Linked DNA regions of Homo sapiens: region 1 is linked to region 2. The links are contacts of gene promoters, found by promoter capture Hi-C in human tissues and cell types (Jung and others, 2019). All regions are on one chromosome and are shown on one strand. Each heading gives the region's core, a stretch centred on a gene start or on the middle of the fragment in contact. The rest is flanking DNA. Distances are from core to core; before and after follow the strand shown. Region 1 overlaps DHX57 (DExH-box helicase 57). Region 2 holds the start of CEBPZ (CCAAT enhancer binding protein zeta).

Region 1 (3,799 bases), core at 1,113-3,612, 1.6 Mb after region 2:
GAGAGTTAATAGTGAGAAGAAACAGTGCAAGGAAAATCTTGCGGAATCCTCAAGATCAGAGACTAAGAAGAGAAAGTAGGGCTTTCAAAGAAGAGAGATCTGTTTATATGCAATACACATTAACATTTTCTACCTAGCACTTACAATTGTTTATACAGATATCTTAACACTCAGGCTATACTGCAAACTCTATGCGAGTACAATGATGATGATGATAATAATAGCTAACTTTTTTTTTTTTTTTTTTGAGACAGAGTTTTACTCTGCCGCCCAGGCTGGAGTGCAATGGCGTGGTCTCAGCTCACTGCAACCTCTGCCTTCCAGGTTCAAGCGATTCTCCTGCCTCAGCCTCCAGATTGGCTGGCATTACAGGCATGCACCACCATGCCCAGCTAACTTTTGTATTCGTAGTAGAGACAGGGTTTCACCATATTGGCCAAGCTGGTCTTGAACTCCCGCCCTCAGGTGATCTGCTCGCCTCGGCCTCCCAAAGTGCTGGGATTACAGGTGTGAGCTACCACACCCAGCCAATAACTGCTAACATTTGAGAGCATGCATTATGTGCCAAGCACAGTTCTAAGCACTTTGCAAGTATTAATTCATTAATTTTTTAATGCTCTCAGCAGAATCAGCAAGTATAAATTCATTAAAACTAAAGTACAGAGAGATTAAGCTACTTGCCAAAGTTATAGTAAGTAGAGGGGGCCAGGCATGGTGGCTCATGACTGTAATCCCAGCACTTCGGGAGGCAAGGCAGGAGGACTGCTTGAGGTCAGGAGTTTGAGACCAGCCTGGGCAACATAATGAGACCCGTCTCTACAAAACCATTAAAAAAAATTAGGCATGGGGGTGTGTGTCTGTAGTTCAGCTACTCAGGAGGCTGAAGTAGAAGGACTGCTTGAGCCAGGTATTCGAGGCTGCAGTGAGCTATGATTACACCACTGCACACCAGCCTGGGCAACAGAGTAAGACTCTATCTCAAAAAAAAAAAAAAAGAAAGAAAGAAAAAGTAAGTAGAGGGACTTAAATATTGGCAGTCTGTTTGCTGAAAGAGAGGGGAGAACAAAATGTTCAAACAGAAAAAATAGAAGAAAATCACTTCTTGGCTTTTTGGCTGAAATCAAGTGCAGAAAAATTAGAAAAAAAGACTAACACATGTATTAGTATTCTGGCACATTGAGGGTCAAATATTATTCTGTTTTCAAAGTTTCACTGAATCTTTTTTTTTTTCTCAATAGATGGGGGTCCCAATATGTTGCCCAAGCTGGTCTTGAACTGGCCCCAAAAGATCCTCCCACCTTTGCCTTCCAAAGTGCTAGAATTACAGGGATGAACCACCATGCCAGGTCCTTTCACTGAATCTTAATTAATATCTTCCTTACCTTGTCACAGCAATTGCATCTTCCAAAAAAAATTGATCAACAGGAAATGTACGACCTAGAAAAACAAGGAGACAAAATAGAAAGCCTGAGAACACCCATTCAACCATCTTGAAATAGTTTATATATATAAAATTCTCTTAAAGCTTGTCATGCTAACGTCCTATTTGTTCTGTGGTCTTAAAAGTATCAAGAAGAAAAGTTCTGGTAACAGAAATTGGAAAGGGCAGATTTCAGTCAGTAAACAGAAGCAGTGTATAGGTAGAGAAATGATCCTTTGCTAAGACTTTTTTTCTTTTACCTGTTACACCTTTCATACCCTCCTCCCCTGCCCCCGCCACTTCCACCATAGAGGACCTTTAAACATTCAACAGTTGTATTCTAGATCAAACACAAAGTTTCTTCCTTAGATTTACTGCCAGCATTCCCTATAACTAAAACAAACTGCACTATTTTTTATCAGTCAGTGTTTCCAAAGTGTCTTTTTAGTATTCAATTGAAGAAGGATAAATCAAAGCTCAGGGTGATAAATTAATTCCACAATGAGACTGTGGAAGTGCCCAAAGAAAACACAGACTGTCCAATGTCACTTTCTGCCAGAGTGGACCAACACCCAGAAATTTAGCAGAATCCAGAAATGAACAAATATACTGTCACAGACACAAGTTCCCTCTTTATGACAGACTGCCACTATCAACTTTGATGTTAAACACAATGGAATGCTAGAAATAAGTAACTATGACTTTTTTTAAAAGTCCCCTAAAAAAATTAAAATCTCCCAGCAATGGCCGGGTGCAGTGGCTCACACCTGTAATCCCAGCACTTTGGGAGGCCGAGGCGGGCAGATCGTGAGGTCAGGAGATGGAGACCATCCTGGCTAACACAGTGAAACCCCGTCTCTACTAAAAATACAAAAAATTAGCTGGGTGAGGTGGCGGGCACCTGTAGTCCCAGCTACTCGGGAGGCTGAGGCAGGAGAATGGCATGAACCCGGGAGGCAGAGGTTGCAGTGAGCCGAGATCACGCCACTGCACTCCAGCCTGGGTGACAGAGCGAGACTCTGTCTCAAAAAAAAAAATCTCCCAGCAAGATATGTTACCTCCTTATCAGCTGCATTATATGGTTTATGATTTTATGTTATAAATGAATCGCTTCTCTAGAAAGAGGTATAAATATCTACTTATGTCTCAAACTTTAAAATAATTATATTTGCTTATTAGAATGATACATATTTAATGATGCATTTTATTCACCTGGTATAGTAATAACGGGGCAGGAATTAAAATAGTCTGAAAAAAGCTCAGCGTTTAGAGTTGCACTCATTAAAATAACTTGAAGACCTGGCCTCTGCGATACAATGTCCTTCAAAACTAGCAGCAAGAAGTCACTAGAGAAAATAAAAGAAACACCTGAGGATCAAACAAATTCAACACATGAAAATTAGTAACTTTTACTATATTTTGAGCAAGAAATGTGTAAGATCTCTGTGAAAAAAAAAAACCATTAACGTTCATAGAACAATATGTCCTGTTCTTGGATGTGAAGCCTTACTATTACAGGTTGAATATCTGTTATGTGAAATGCTTGGAACCAGAAGTGTTTCAGATTTCAAATTTTCTCAGATTTTAGAATAGTTGCATATACATAATGAGATATCTGGGGGATGGGGTCTAAATCTAAACAAGAAATCAATTTATGTTTCATATATACCTTATATACACAGCCTAAAGGTAACTGTATATAATATTTTGAATAATTTTGTCTGTGAAATAAAGTTGGTATACATTGAACCATCGGAGAGCAAAGGTGTCAGGTGTGGAATCTTACCACTTGTAGTGTCATGTCAGCACTCAAGAAGTTTCAGATTTTGGATTATTTCTGATTTTTGGATTAGGGATGCTCAACCTGTATAAAGATATAAATTCTTTCCCAAAGAAACCAAATCCAGGCAGTACCAATCAAAATCCCAACAGGATTGATAATCAAATTTTATAATTATTATTTTTTTACTCTTAGCTGGTATAGGGTACAAATTTGATAATTCTACTTCTTGATATCTATGTGTACCACAAAGAGGCACATACAAAGATTTTCATTATAGCATTGTTTGTAATAGTAAGACAGTAGAAACTACCCAAATGTCCATCAACTAACTGATAAATGGTTAATTATAACAATATCATCCAGTCTATGAAATAACATGAAGCAGATACAAGGAATAAGGTAGAGCTCTAGAAAATAACATGAAAACATCTCTAAGACATATTTTTAGTAGGAAAAATCCCAAGTTGCCTGGAATAGTATGCACGGCAGAATAACACCACCCTAATTGGTCTCTTGGCCCTTGCCCCCTTGCAATCTGTTCTCAATACAGCCAACCAATAATGCTCTTCGAATGTCAGTCTGATTGTGCTGACGGG
Region 2 (3,313 bases), core at 438-2,937:
GTCTCAAACTCCTGGACTCAAGGTATCCTCCCACCTCTGACTCCCAAAGTGCTGGGATTATGGGTGTGAGCCACTGTGCCTGGCTCATTTCTACAAATTTATACTACATATACACTTACAAAAGTGGGGGAAAAACACGATTAAGGTTATTAACTGTAGTATTATTTAAAATAGTGAAAGACTGGCAATAATTTAAATATTCACAATAAATGGCTGGTTAGATAAATTAAGACAGACAAAATGATTTATGCAGCCATAGCAATGACACAGAACGTTATGCACTGATATAGAAGGATTTCTAAGACAGAAAAGAAAGCAAAATGTAGAGATAGGTGTATATATATGGTACCATTTATGTAAAAAAGATACACCCGTATTTCATACACATAAATGAGTATGTATATGCTTGAAAAGGTATATAGTATCCCTGAAAGATATAAAATGCAGTTGTAAAAATAATTGCTTCCTATCAGGGCAATGGTTATGGCTGAGATAAAAGTGGAAACAATTTGACTTCACTATGTATCTTTTAAAGTTTGCACCACGTGTTTCATGTGTATATATTACCTATTCAAAACTTAAATATACACAAGCACAGAGCAAACTGTGAATCTGCCTATCTCTAACTAACTCCTCCACCTTGAAAGTCCAGTCTCCAAACAAAATAATATTAAAAACAAAGTTAATTTCTGTTCCTTATCTGCTTAAAATCTTCCAGTGGTTTTGCATCAAACTCAGAGCAAAAGCCTGCCCTCTGACCCCTCGGCCCTCCTTTCTTACTATTCTCCCCTTAACTCACTCTGCCTCTGCTACACTGGCATTTTGGCTGCTCATGGAATAGGTTAGGCACTCTTCTGCCTGTCTTTGCATTTGCTGTTCCAACTGACTGGAATGGCAGCTCACTCCTTCCTGTCCTTTAGGATTCTGCTCAAACATTTCCGTGATGTGTTTGTCGATCATCTCATTTAATACTAACGCGCTCCCACTCCTTATCGTCCTTCCTTGTTTTATTTTCTTTTATAGCACTACCCCGCGTCTGCTGTACTATGTGTTTAAAAGTTTGTTTACTGTTTCTCTCCCTTAATTAGGATGCTCCAAAAAAGAGGGCTTCTGGGGCATACAGTGACACGTGCATGTACTCTATGAGAACAGAAATGAAAATTCCAATACCACTGGTGTTCAAAACACTCATACCACAAGGTCAGGACCAAGAAAAGCCACTCTCCGACCTGATGGTGTGATGGTTATACCACGTCAATAAAATCAGAAGATCGCCTACATCCTAAGAATAGCCAGAGAATACAACGTTCAATTCGAAACTTTTCTTTTGTAAACAGCAGTGGAAACCGGCGTGGGAAGCGCACCGAACACATGCTTCAGAGGCTGGGATCTCGGTCCTGGACGCCCGCGCTCTACGCAGCGCGGAAGCGGCGGGGCAGTCAGCCTAGCCACCTTCGGAACTCTCCACGCCTGATCCCGTTCCCCGGAGCCCGCGGCCGTTACCTTGGTGCCTCCGAGCCGTAACACTTCCTCCAGGGAGAACCCATTCTCGGCTTCACTAGTATTATCCTCATCCTCCTCGTCCGGATCTTCTACTGCCTCCTCGGGGCGCCAAGGCCGCTTGGCATGGAACTCCAAAGGCTCCTTGACTGCGGCCATGGCGGGCAAAGCATACGCGCGTGAAACTCAGCCTATTTCCGCTCTGCCAGTGGCGTAATTCCTGTCGGGGCGTGTCTTCTCCCGGAAATGGTCTAAGCCCCAGCTCCTGGCGGAGCGAGCTAGCCTGCGAATTTCAGCATGAGTGTACTGCTGAGGTCAGGTTTGGGGCCGTTGTGTGCCGTGGCGCGCGCAGGTAAGCGTCAGTCCCCTCGAAGCCCGGTTGCCGTGGAAGCCGCGTGGGGCGCCTTCCTCAGCTCTTCAGTTGAGGGTACCGGGGGATCAAGGGCTCGGGGGCTCACTTCCACCTTGAAGGTACCCTGGGCTGGAAACGGGTCCGGTACAAACGCAATAGGGCTGCGTAGTCGTGGGCAAGTGGGTGCTGTCTCTGCGCCCCGTGGGCGTGCTAAGCACAGTAGCCCGCGGTCTGCGGTGGGGCGAGGTTAAGGGTTCACGAAGCTGTTTTGAAAACGCTCAGGCGGCTTGCGCTCGTGAATGGTCAGATTTATCATGGGGTCTGTTTAATTTGTGTTTTTCGCAGCCATTCCTTTTATTTGGAGAGGGAAATACTTCAGCTCCGGGAATGAGCCTGCAGAAAACCCGGTGACGCCGATGCTGCGGCATCTTATGTACAAAATAAAGTCTACTGGTCCCATCACTGTGGCCGAGTACATGAAGGAGGTGTTGACTAATCCAGCCAAGGTATGGGTCGGGTAGCCCGAGGACTAGGCCCTCTCTAGCCGATTTGCGAGGTGCAAGCCAGGAGGGAGAAGCCCGAAGGTTCTCAGCCCAGGCAGTGGGGGTGCCTGCCAGGGGAAGAGCCATTTCTGAGGACCTGGGGACAGATAATTTGTCAGTTGGTCAGGGCTGGCTCACGTCAGAGGCAGTGCCAGTAAAGAGGAGAGGACACGGTCCAAGGGTGTTTAGGAGACAGAATGTAGCTGATTGGATTTATGATGCGGGAAGGATGACTTTCCTACTTGGCTGATGGTGGGTGGTGTGGATTCATTGCTTTGGGAGAAGGAATACGGGAGGAAGGATGGAGAGTTCAGGCTGGTATATGAATTTGAAGTGTGTGGGACTCTTAGGTAGAAATCTCCAACAGGCAGCTGGAAATAGGAATTACTGCCTGGAAAGTCGTCTGTGTTGGAATGGCTTCAGCTGGCATTGGAGACATGTGCTGGGTTTTCTCACATGTGCAGTTGAGAATGCAGTCTGGGTCGTCTTCACTGTTCTAGGATTAGGCACAGTCACAGCTTTCTGACCCACGTTTCCTTGTCTGTTCTACAGAGCCATTTGGTGAAAGCCTATAGTCCTTTATTTTAGAATATTTCATCTTTTGCTGGGTTGAAATATGACCTCTGTGGAATTCTGGGGTTAGATTGGCCATTGTTGTTGGATATGGTAGTGTGACTCTAGTGTCGAGGTTTACCCAAGGCCGGTATCTTTCTTTCGATGCCGGTTAGGCAGGGCTGCAAGATAGGTGGCTTAGACTAGTGTGGTGGTACTAGAAATAGAAGAGGGTGATTTAGAAAGGGACTGACAGGATTTGCCGATGGATTGAGTGATGGAACGGAGGAATCAAGGCTGATTCGTACTTTTAGCTTGAGCAGTTGGGTGATGATGGTACCTTTTATTGAGATTAAGACAGACAGGA

What was found. The method cuts DNA at HindIII sites, captures the fragments that hold promoters and counts their contacts. A contact is called where the count stands out against the background at its distance.
Region 1: a fragment that was not itself captured here is called in contact with the fragment with the promoter of CEBPZ in region 2 in 1 of the 25 tissues and cell types used here (heart right ventricle).

Annotation. Positions count from the first base shown.
Region 1 is chr2:38,845,637-38,849,435 of GRCh38, forward strand. DHX57 (DExH-box helicase 57) reads right to left here. Exons shown (of 24, transcript NM_198963.3): 10 at 2,633-2,766; 11 at 1,383-1,437. The region is part of intron 2 of LOC105374470 (a long non-coding RNA gene); the gene reads left to right. Among named protein-coding and RNA genes, the nearest start is that of DHX57, 28 kb to the right of the region's middle. The HindIII fragment of the contact is 5,686 bases long and covers 1-3,799 here.
Region 2 is chr2:37,229,909-37,233,221 of GRCh38, forward strand. It overlaps CEBPZ (CCAAT enhancer binding protein zeta), which reads right to left and starts at 1,688. Exons shown (of 16, transcript NM_005760.3): 1 at 1,504-1,688. The coding sequence starts at 1,659. It overlaps NDUFAF7 (NADH:ubiquinone oxidoreductase complex assembly factor 7), which reads left to right and starts at 1,750. Exons shown (of 10, transcript NM_144736.5): 1 at 1,750-1,852; 2 at 2,198-2,358. The coding sequence starts at 1,798. RefSeq lists enhancers at 1,033-2,232, 1,190-1,639. The HindIII fragment of the contact is 15,525 bases long and covers 1-3,313 here.